Regions from separate parts of the Homo sapiens genome. Here region 1 is linked to region 2. The links are contacts of gene promoters, found by promoter capture Hi-C in blood cells and fetal thymus (Javierre and others, 2016). All regions are on one chromosome and are shown on one strand. Each heading gives the region's core, a stretch centred on a gene start or on the middle of the fragment in contact. The rest is flanking DNA. Distances are from core to core; before and after follow the strand shown.

Evidence for each region. Contacts are between HindIII fragments. The CHiCAGO score rates a contact against its expected background, and 5 or more counts as called.
Region 1: a fragment that was not itself captured here is called in contact with the fragment with the promoter of ELOVL4 in region 2 in 1 of 17 cell types (fetal thymus); the score reaches 8.4 in fetal thymus.

Annotation. Positions count from the first base shown.
Region 1 is chr6:80,041,691-80,046,514 of GRCh38, forward strand. TTK (TTK protein kinase) reads left to right here. Exons shown (of 22, transcript NM_003318.5): 22 at 429-837. The coding sequence ends at 512. Among named protein-coding and RNA genes, the nearest start is that of TTK, 39 kb to the left of the region's middle. The HindIII fragment of the contact is 2,180 bases long and covers 254-2,433 here.
Region 2 is chr6:79,944,459-79,949,203 of GRCh38, forward strand. ELOVL4 (ELOVL fatty acid elongase 4) reads right to left here and starts at 3,095. Exons shown (of 6, transcript NM_022726.4): 1 at 2,722-3,095. The coding sequence starts at 2,821. LOC124901350 reads right to left here. Exons shown (of 2, transcript XM_047419628.1): 2 at 2,929-3,553. The coding sequence starts at 3,357. The coding sequence ends at 2,929. LOC124901351 (a long non-coding RNA gene) reads left to right here and starts at 3,347. Exons shown (of 3, transcript XR_007059656.1): 1 at 3,347-3,469. RefSeq lists a silencer at 3,155-3,204. The HindIII fragment of the contact is 8,446 bases long and covers 908-4,745 here.

The DNA of each region.
Region 1 (4,824 bases), core at 94-2,593, 95 kb after region 2:
AATATATATCTAATTATTATATTTATATAATTTGTAATGTCTTCTATTTATTAGCTTATTATCATCTGAGAATATAAAGTTTCCTAATAAATATATTTTGTATAGGAATTTACCTAAGACTGGCTTTATTTAAGAAAAAGTAAAGAGATAAAGAAGGCCTTGAAGGCTCATATGTATGTTTATTAGTAGCTCTGTTATATTTCTCTCATAGAAAGATTGAGTTATATCTCATGATAGGTAATGCTTAAGGCCAAGCTTCGTGTTTAAAATTCTTTATTATCTCTAATAGTTTATAAAATAATTTCCCAACTGTAAGAACAAGAGAGAAATAAATGTATTATATTTAGAATACATCAAAATACATCTACTGATGTGACAGTACATTTAACTAAAAAATTGCAAAACAGATTTGTGTTTTTTAATTTCAGACTTTATATGAACACTATAGTGGTGGTGAAAGTCATAATTCTTCATCCTCCAAGACTTTTGAAAAAAAAAGGGGAAAAAAATGATTTGCAGTTATTCGTAATGTCAGATACCACCTATAAAATATATTGGACTGTTATACTCTTGAATCCCTGTGGAAATCTACATTTGAAGACAACATCACTCTGAAGTGTTATCAGCAAAAAAAATTCAGTAGATTATCTTTAAAAGAAAACTGTAAAAATAGCAACCACTTATGGCACTGTATATATTGTAGACTTGTTTTCTCTGTTTTATGCTCTTGTGTAATCTACTTGACATCATTTTACTCTTGGAATAGTGGGTGGATAGCAAGTATATTCTAAAAAACTTTGTAAATAAAGTTTTGTGGCTAAAATGACACTAACATTTCAAAGTTGTAAGGTTGTTTTCTTTAAGCAAATGTATTGTTGGCATGGCAGCAAAATTCTTAATTAGTAAAAAGTAGATTAGGGAAGATGTGAGACTAGACCTTAGTAAATGAACTTTGAAAAACAAATCCTGAAGGGTTTGAATTCCAAAATAGACTTCCTAATTATTTCCGGCACCGATAACAGTCTATAATTTTAGGACTGAACTTGGCTCTTTCAGATATTCATAACGTCTGTTGTTTTTGGTATTTAGAATATCATGCTGGATTCTGTGTTGTAAGCTGTATAGGGCATGCCCTCACTGTATGACTTGCTAGGTAATGGATAATTGTAAATGTGGCCCCAGAGTCTCTTGACTGAATCTGATAGCTTAAAGTATCCTCACATAGCATCCTTTTCTCAATTTTTAAAAAAAGATTTTAAGAGATTTTATTTTTTATAGCAGTTTTAAGTTCACAGCAAAATTGACCAGAACGTACAGAGTTCCCATGTATCCTTTCCCCACCCCACCCCCACACATGTATAACTTCCCTTGCTATCAGCATCCACCATATCAACATTCCACACCACAATGGTACATTTATCACAGTCCGTAAACCTACCTTAACATATTATCACCCAAAGTCCATAGTTTATATTGGGGTTCACTCTTGGTATTGTATATTCTTTAGGTTTTGATAAATATTTAATGACATTTATCTACCATTGTAACATGATACAGAATAGTTTCACTGTCTTGAAAGTCCTCTGTTCTTTGTCCCTTCATCCTTCCCTCTACCCTAATGCCTGGGAACCACTGATCTTTTTACTATCTCTGTAGTTTTACTTTTCCAGAATGTGACCGTCACGTAAGTGGAATCATACAGTCTATAGCCTCTTCAGATTGGCTTCTTTCACTTAGCAACATGTCTTTTTATGGCTTGCTAGCTTATTTCTTTTTAGCACTAGTTAATATTCTATTGTCTGGATGTTCCACAGTTTATCTCTTTATCTGCTGAAAGATACCGTGGTTGCTTCCAAATTTGGGGAATTGTGAATAAACTTGCTATGTGCATGCTTTTGTCTGGACCTAATTTTTTTTAGCTCTTTTGGCTAAATACTCCTTTGGGACCAAGGAGTTTAACTGCTAAAATCTATGTAAGAGTGTTTAGTTGTGTAAGAAAGCACCAAACTGTCTTCCAAAGTGGTTGTACTGTTTTGCGTTTTCACCAGCAATGTTTCAGAGTTCCTGTGGCTCCATATCCTTTCCAGCATTTGATGTCTGTGTTTTGGATATGGGGCATTCTAATGGGTTGGTAGGGGTATCTCATTTTAATTTGCATTTCCCTAATGACATGATTTTGAGCATCTCATTTCTATATGCTCATTTGCATCTGTGTATCTTCTTTTGCCCATTTTTAAATTGGTTCATTTTCTTATTGAGGTTTAAGAGTTTTGTGTATTTTGAATAACAGTCCTTTATCAGATGTCTTTTGCACATATATTCTCCCACTTGTGGCATTTCTTCTCATTCTCTTCATTCCCAAATTTGTAACTATGGTTATTAGTTTTCAGAATTATTGGTTTTAAGTTAATGTAGTGTAATAGGTAAGTAGTAAGCTTAAACAGGAATTCTGCAAACCACACTTATAGAGAAAACATGGTAAAAATTCAACTTGGAAGTCAGGCATTTGTCTACATGTGTTCATTGAGAATACTGTTGATTTTTTTCTTTTTAAAATTATCTTGAAATTTAATGTGCATATAAACAATTTTTTTTAATACTTGTTTAGAGTTAGAAATTCTCTTATGGGGAAAAGCATCGTTTTGTCTATTGCTTCAATGGGTTCTTGATGAAAGTGTCTTGTTTGTTTTACAATTACTAACCTATAGTCAGAATCAGTTAATGTTTTGAAAATACATTTTTAGGAAAGCATTGGCTACTTTTTGCCCTTGGAGTTTTCATATCAATTTTATCAGTTCATTAAATTCCACACACAAAATAATCATGTTGTGATTATTTTGTGTGTGGAATATTATCTTTGTCTTTGTACTAGTCATGGTACTTGAGGGAAAAAAAGCAAGCATATGAGGTTTCCTATAATGGCGTCTTCCAAAGATGGATTTCCAAATGCAGAGAAGATTTTTGCTTGCTTATACCAGATCCCAGAGGCTTACCTAGGGCTAGAATATTCCAAGTTCAAAGCTTGAGGTTCTCAGAACCAGGTGATGCAAAATCAGGTTAAAATCCACTTGGTTTATTTCTAGAGGACACTTGTCCAGGGAGGTCAGCCCTTCTGGTTCCAGCTTAAAGCAAATGTCAGGTGTGTCTTTCCTCCTTAGGAAGTTCCTGGATTTTGAGTCGTTTATCATACTCTACCAGGTTGCCAAACCTATACCTCAGTTTCACAGATGTTTCTTCTAAAGACAAATGCTCTGTTGTGCTTACCTCTCTGGGTTCTCATCTTCATTAATGTTTGGATTCCATAATTTCCCACTAATTTGAAAAACTAAAATTCATGCCAATTTATATTCCCACTATCAGTATTAAGAACTCATTGGTCTACATACAACATCTTTTATACTTAATATTGTCAGAATTTAAAGGTTTTTGCTGTCTCATAGGTATAAAATAGTATTTTTGCAGTGTCTTTAATTTTTTGTTTAGCAATGAGGGTGGGCATTTTGCCATATGTTTATTGACCATTCTTTTTTGTTTTTTTTTTTTCTTTCTATCACTGAAAAGCCAGGTTCTTACTCTCTGGTATTCATATGTTTCATGTCATATTTATTTTTGTATTACCTTTTTTTATTTCTTTATAAGTGTTCTTTGTATTACAATTACCTATAGTCAGAATCAGTTAATGTGTTGAATATACTTTTAGGAGAGTATCGGCTATTTTTGGCCCCTTGAGCATTCATATCAATTTTATCAGTTCAGTAAATTCCATACACAAAATAATCATGTTGAGGCCAGGCATGGTGGTGGCTCATGCTAGGAATCCCAACAATTTGAGAGGTTGAGGCAGGGAGAGTCCTTGAGGCCAGGAGTTTGAGACCAACATGGGCTACATAATCAGATCCATTAGTTGCAAAAAATGAAAATAAAAAACAATTAGCTGGGTGTGGTGGTGCAGCATATCTATAGTCCTACCTTTTTGGGAGTCTGAGGCAGGAGGATCAGTTGAGTCCAGGAGTTTGAGGCTGCAATGAGCTATGATTATGCCACAGCACTCCAGCCTGGGTGACAGAGTGAGCTCCTGCCTCCAGGAGGTAAATACAAAAAATACAATAAATAAAATAATTTTAAAAATCATATCGAGATTGTATTTATAGTTTCATAGAACATTTAGGTCATTTAGAGATAATTGCCATTTTATGATATGAGTCTTCCTATCAATGAACATGATATAGTTCTCAATTTATTTAGGTCTTCTCTTACAATTCAATAAACTTTATACTTTTTTTATACAGGTCTTTCACATCTTTTGTCGGCTTTATTACAAAAGCTCTGTTGCTGTTGTAAATAGTATCTTTTAAAAATTACCTTTCTTAATTTTCTGTTCTTTTATAGCACCATAATTGGTTTTTTAATTTAATTTTATTTTTGCAATTCATCAGGGAGTGTAATTGATTTTTGCGTATTGAACTTAACAGCTAGCCACCTTGCTAAGATTTTTATTTTCCTAATTAACCTAAAGGTTCCAGGGTTTTCTATATAAATAGTCATCACATGTAGGATCATCACATCAGACATAGGGGTGCTCCATTTGTTTATTACTAAATTATGTTCCTTTTTCTTCTTTCTTTTTTTGAGTGCACTAATATATTTTAATATTGAATGAAAATAGTGATAGTGCTAGTTGTTGATTTTAAAGGAGATGATTTTAGTGTTTCACTATTCAATTGGTTCTTGCTTGAGGTTTTTGGAATACACCCTTATTCATGTTAAGAAAGTGTCTTTCTATTTTACTGAAAGGTTTTTTCTAAGTAAAAGAAGGTTATTATT
Region 2 (4,745 bases), core at 1,845-4,344:
TTTGTTGTTTTTCTAAAAGTATAGCTCTTTCAAACTTTCAATTCCAATGTACAAAGTGTTAATACTGTAGTAAAAGTAACATTTTTGTTGTTAACATTATTATGGACCATATTTTGTATTTGCTACATATGTGCCTCTGAAAAGCCCAGTTTTCAGACATTGCTTTGGATATGTTTGGATATTTAAAGCACCATTTGATATAATAGCACAAAATGGCATTTAATGAATTAATAAAAGAATGAAAGAAGCATGTAACTACAGCACTAGGAATGAGAGCAGCCAAGGACAAGGAGCCTACCTCATTTCTTGCTCTCCCTCAATAATTTGCATCCTTTCACCACACTCATCACTATTTCTCAAGACCATCTTTCTATCCCGCCCATTTCTGTTTCCCCTTCTTTCCAAACATTTGACTCACCAACTTTTGTTTAACCTCATCTTATAAGCTACTTTTCTATTTTGATATCCCCCACCCAGATTTTCATCAAATTATGCTGAGAGGTGGAATCAGAGCAGAGTGAATGAGTCCAAAAAAAAAAAAAAAAAAAAAAAAGGAACACGAGGGGCATAGAATGAGGGAGAGTAAACGTAAATGGGACACCACAGACTTCAGGTCTATTCGGCCTGGACCTGAAAAATACTCCTCCTCACACAGCAGTACAGCAGAACAGACTATATCCACTAAGCCTCTCTGTTGGTTAAGAAATACCATCTGCCTACATAAGGTAGCTCATTACAGAAAGCAAGGAAGCAGTCTCAGGTTTCGTAAGTGGATAGTCAAAGCATAGGCAAATACCTTCCTTCGGCCTGCTAGTGAGAGGTCACTTGTGTTCTAAGGCTACTCTCACTTCTCAGGCTTGGCCCACAATATTATATTATTTTATATGCCCTTCGAAGCCTAGTAGCAAGCTTTCACATGCGGCAACTGCACAAAATTTCCTGTTTCATTTGTGTGTGTGTGGTTTCTTTTACACAAACATCATCAGGAAGGAATTCACCATCACAGAAAGGTGTATTCTACCTTTGCCCTCAATTTTTCCTTCTGAGACTCAAGAGATGGGAAAGCTCCGGGATAGGATAGGAATGACAGGACCGAGAACTCCTGGGTGTGGCTCTGGCTATATGGAGACTGGAGTATCTCAACAGTGTCTGACTCCTAGGTGTGCGAAGTGCAATTACCTGCTAAAGAACTTGTCTGATGTTCAGCTCTATACAATTGTGTAATGGGAAGCCCTGATGCAACGTTTAAAGAACCGAAATCACAGACGTGAAGGGAAGGGCACATCTTTCCCAGTTTTTGCAGGTACAGTGTAACATCAGTGTAATAGCGCATAGAAACAAAAAAAAAAACTGAAGAAACACTCCATTGAAAACTGCCTTTTAACCATTTTCAGCTGTAATGGCTTATTAAATAGCTTATTTCCCAGTGTCAAAGTTGAGATCTTCTGAAAAAGAACATACTTTTCTAAAGAAGTGAATGCAGTATTAATGCCAAATAATCATTTTGTCTCTCACAAAAATAATTCCAGCATACGTTTTTCCCAAAACATAAGCCCTATGTATCGGACTACATTCATGCTGTAACCACTGTCTAATTTCCTCTAACAACAATGAACACAAAAACTACAGGAGTACATTTTCATTTCGAAGTAGGGAAGGCAGAGTCATAAGATGGAACGTTAATATCCTTCACTGATAGGATGCAGTGTGATACTGCAAAAGGACCAGAAAAATTGACCTCGTAAAATCATTTCTGAAATCCTTTAAACCTTATTTTAGATTTCAAAGACTTTTAAATGCTTTAAAATCAAAAGCAGCGAAGCAAATGAAGAAATAAACAGTACAATGTAAAAATATAATATCACAGTTGGACGCTAGGAAAGCTGCATAAATCAAACAATTGACAGCCCTGCCAAATTAACTGCAACAGCTAAAGAAAAGTTTGCTGATTTAAGAACTGTATATATGTAGGCATCTGGGACAACCTCTAGGTGTTGCTGTAGAGACCCCCTTCCTAAAGACTGATTTCTTCCCCGGTGTTTTGGCCTCCCCCTCCCCCTGACTGCACTGCAGTGCGCAAAGCCATTATAGACAATCACTTCAAACATATTTGCTGTTGAAAATGCCTCGGAAACTAACATTCTTCAAGGTTCAAGGAGCCAAACAATATTATTTTACTTTTCAGTCCGAATTATACTATAGATGAAGGAGCTAGATAGAAGAAAAGATTAGCAGGGTTCTGTCAAAGCGACCAGGAGGCTGAAGAAACCTCCTGTACCTTCAGCTGCCCCTGAAGCCCTCCTTCCTCCCCAGCCCGCTCTCCATACAAAATAGGACTAAATGTTAAAAGGAATCCTGTGCACGGGGAAGAGGGAGGCGAGCTCGGGAGATGTGGGAGCACAGGGTGGGGCGGCTCCTGCGAGGAGCTCCTGGCTGCACAGGCTCCATCTGATATGTCAGCTCCCGCATCCGAGAGCTGATGAGAGATGGAGGGAGCTCAGAAGAAAACCCTGCGAGTGTCGGGGGAGGGGAGGCCTTAACATTCGGATCAGATTAACCAGTGCTCAACCGCAGTGCCCGCGCCGGCCCCTCCGCTGATCCGCAGCATCCGAAAGCCGCAGGGCGCGGGGGCCTGTGGGGCCGGGCCCGGGAGCTGCGAGACCAGGGGCCGGTGACCCCCCGCGGGGGACCGAGCGAGGATGGGGAAGTCAGCGGCTTTACCTGCGATGGACCAGGTCCAGCGGTAGAACTCTACCGTGTCGTTGAGTGCCGTGGACACTACGTTTAGGACACTACCCGGCTCCGAGTCCAGGAGCCCCATCGCGGCGATGAGCGGGCGCTGGCGGCAGGAGAAAGCGGAGACCCAGAGAGAGGGCTGACCCCGGAGGCGGTGGCGGCCGACGGGGCGAGCGGCGGCCGGGAACCCCTCTAACGGCGGCGGCCCGGCTGCGTCTTCTCCTGCTCCTCAAGGCGCCGCGGCGGCGGGGATGCGGCAGAAGGCAGGGCCAAGCGGAAGGCGTCGTCAAGGTTCCCGGGAGAAAGACGAGGAGGTGGAGGAGGCCCAGCCGCCAGCACAGTGCGCTGCACCAGTCTGCAGCCTCGCGCAGCCGCCCCTCCAATCTCCTCAGCCGGCGTCACGTGGCCGCGCGCGGGGGCGGGGGGCCGGCCGCCCCTCCTCCCTCCCTCCCTCCCTAGTATTGGGACTCGCTGGCGTAGGGATGCTGCGCTCAAGGGTGCGACGCCAACTGGGCTCGCGCAGGCGCGCGCCGTCGAGCGGGAGCGGGACACCTGGGCTCCTCCTTGGCCCCTCCCCGCACAAGTCGCCTCATTAGCCTTCCCCGCCCCTGTCCCGGGCATCGGCCCCTGCGGAGGAGTTCACCGCCTCCCCACGGGTGATTTCTTATCCGCCCCGGATACGTCCTGGGAAACAGGACACGGGAAGAATGGGTGTTCTGTGGGCAAAGATGAGGTAGGCGTGGTGCTTTGGTCCTTACCTGACACTCACCTCGATTTCACTTGTGTTCCTGTTTCTTTGACCTCCACCAGCACATGCCTGTCACCATGACAAGAGAAGTGCATGTGTTATGCCTCTGAAGAAGTGAAGGGTATTTGTCTTCCATGCTTCAGCGATGGAGAATAGACTTTGGGGTCGACCCATGAACAAATCAACATATAATTGCATGAATGCTTGCATGTGTTTTGTAGACTCTTTTACTATACATGGAATGAACAAAGCAATATAATTGTGCTAAATTAGGCCATTAGTAGTTCAGAGAAGAGGGAGAACCGAGAGGGGCTTACAGGTGAAGTCCGCTTGAACCTGAAGAAGTTGAGGTGAATCTGAAAAAGATAATCGCTCAAGAGGCAAAGGGCAATTTAGTGTAGAGAGGAAAACAAAGTAATTGTGGCTATTTTGAAAAATTGTTTAGATAAGGTATAGGAGAGCCTACCCTTGAAAAGTAAAAAAAATACAGTACTTGGAATTCATAATTTGATGGTTTCTCACATAAAACAAGATTTTTGAGAATAGTCCTTTCATCTACTTGTTTTTTAAATGTGTCACCTACTTGTTTAACCTTTTCTCCACTTGCTCATTTTGGATGCTACATTTTAAAGACCAGTGAGTCAAGTGTCTTATTGTTCCTGCCCTTTCACACTGTTAATGTGAATACTATCTTTTATCATACTGAAATGATCTATTTCCCAATTGACCTGGTTATATATTGTCTATATTTTATATTGGAAGCATCCTAGATGGTAAGAATTATTTTTGGTTGCTTGATGAGTACCTAACCCAGTGCTATAAACAGTAATTAATAAATATTTATGATGACAAAAATATAACATGTCTTTCAGAGAATAATAAGGATTATTGTGAGTGGCAGGAACTTTATTGCCGAACTAAAGCAAACACAGACTTCTTTAAATGCCCTATTCTTGAAATTAACCAAATAAAATGTTAATTTATTAATTTGTCAAATATATTTGCAAATCTAAAGTTTTCTGGATTGGAATGACAATTTCTCAAGTCTCAATCCTAAATTATGTGTAACAGATTCTAGTAGCTATATAAAAAAAAGAAATCCAGTCAAGTCTCTTCATTTAGGGAGTGGATAAATACCCATTCATTTACAGTGATGATCTAACAAAGTTCGGATTAGTTCGAGCTTCACCTAAAAATTTGATTACTATTTCTATATTGTGGAATCCTGGAGTTTTTAGGGAGAACAGATCTCTACCCATAC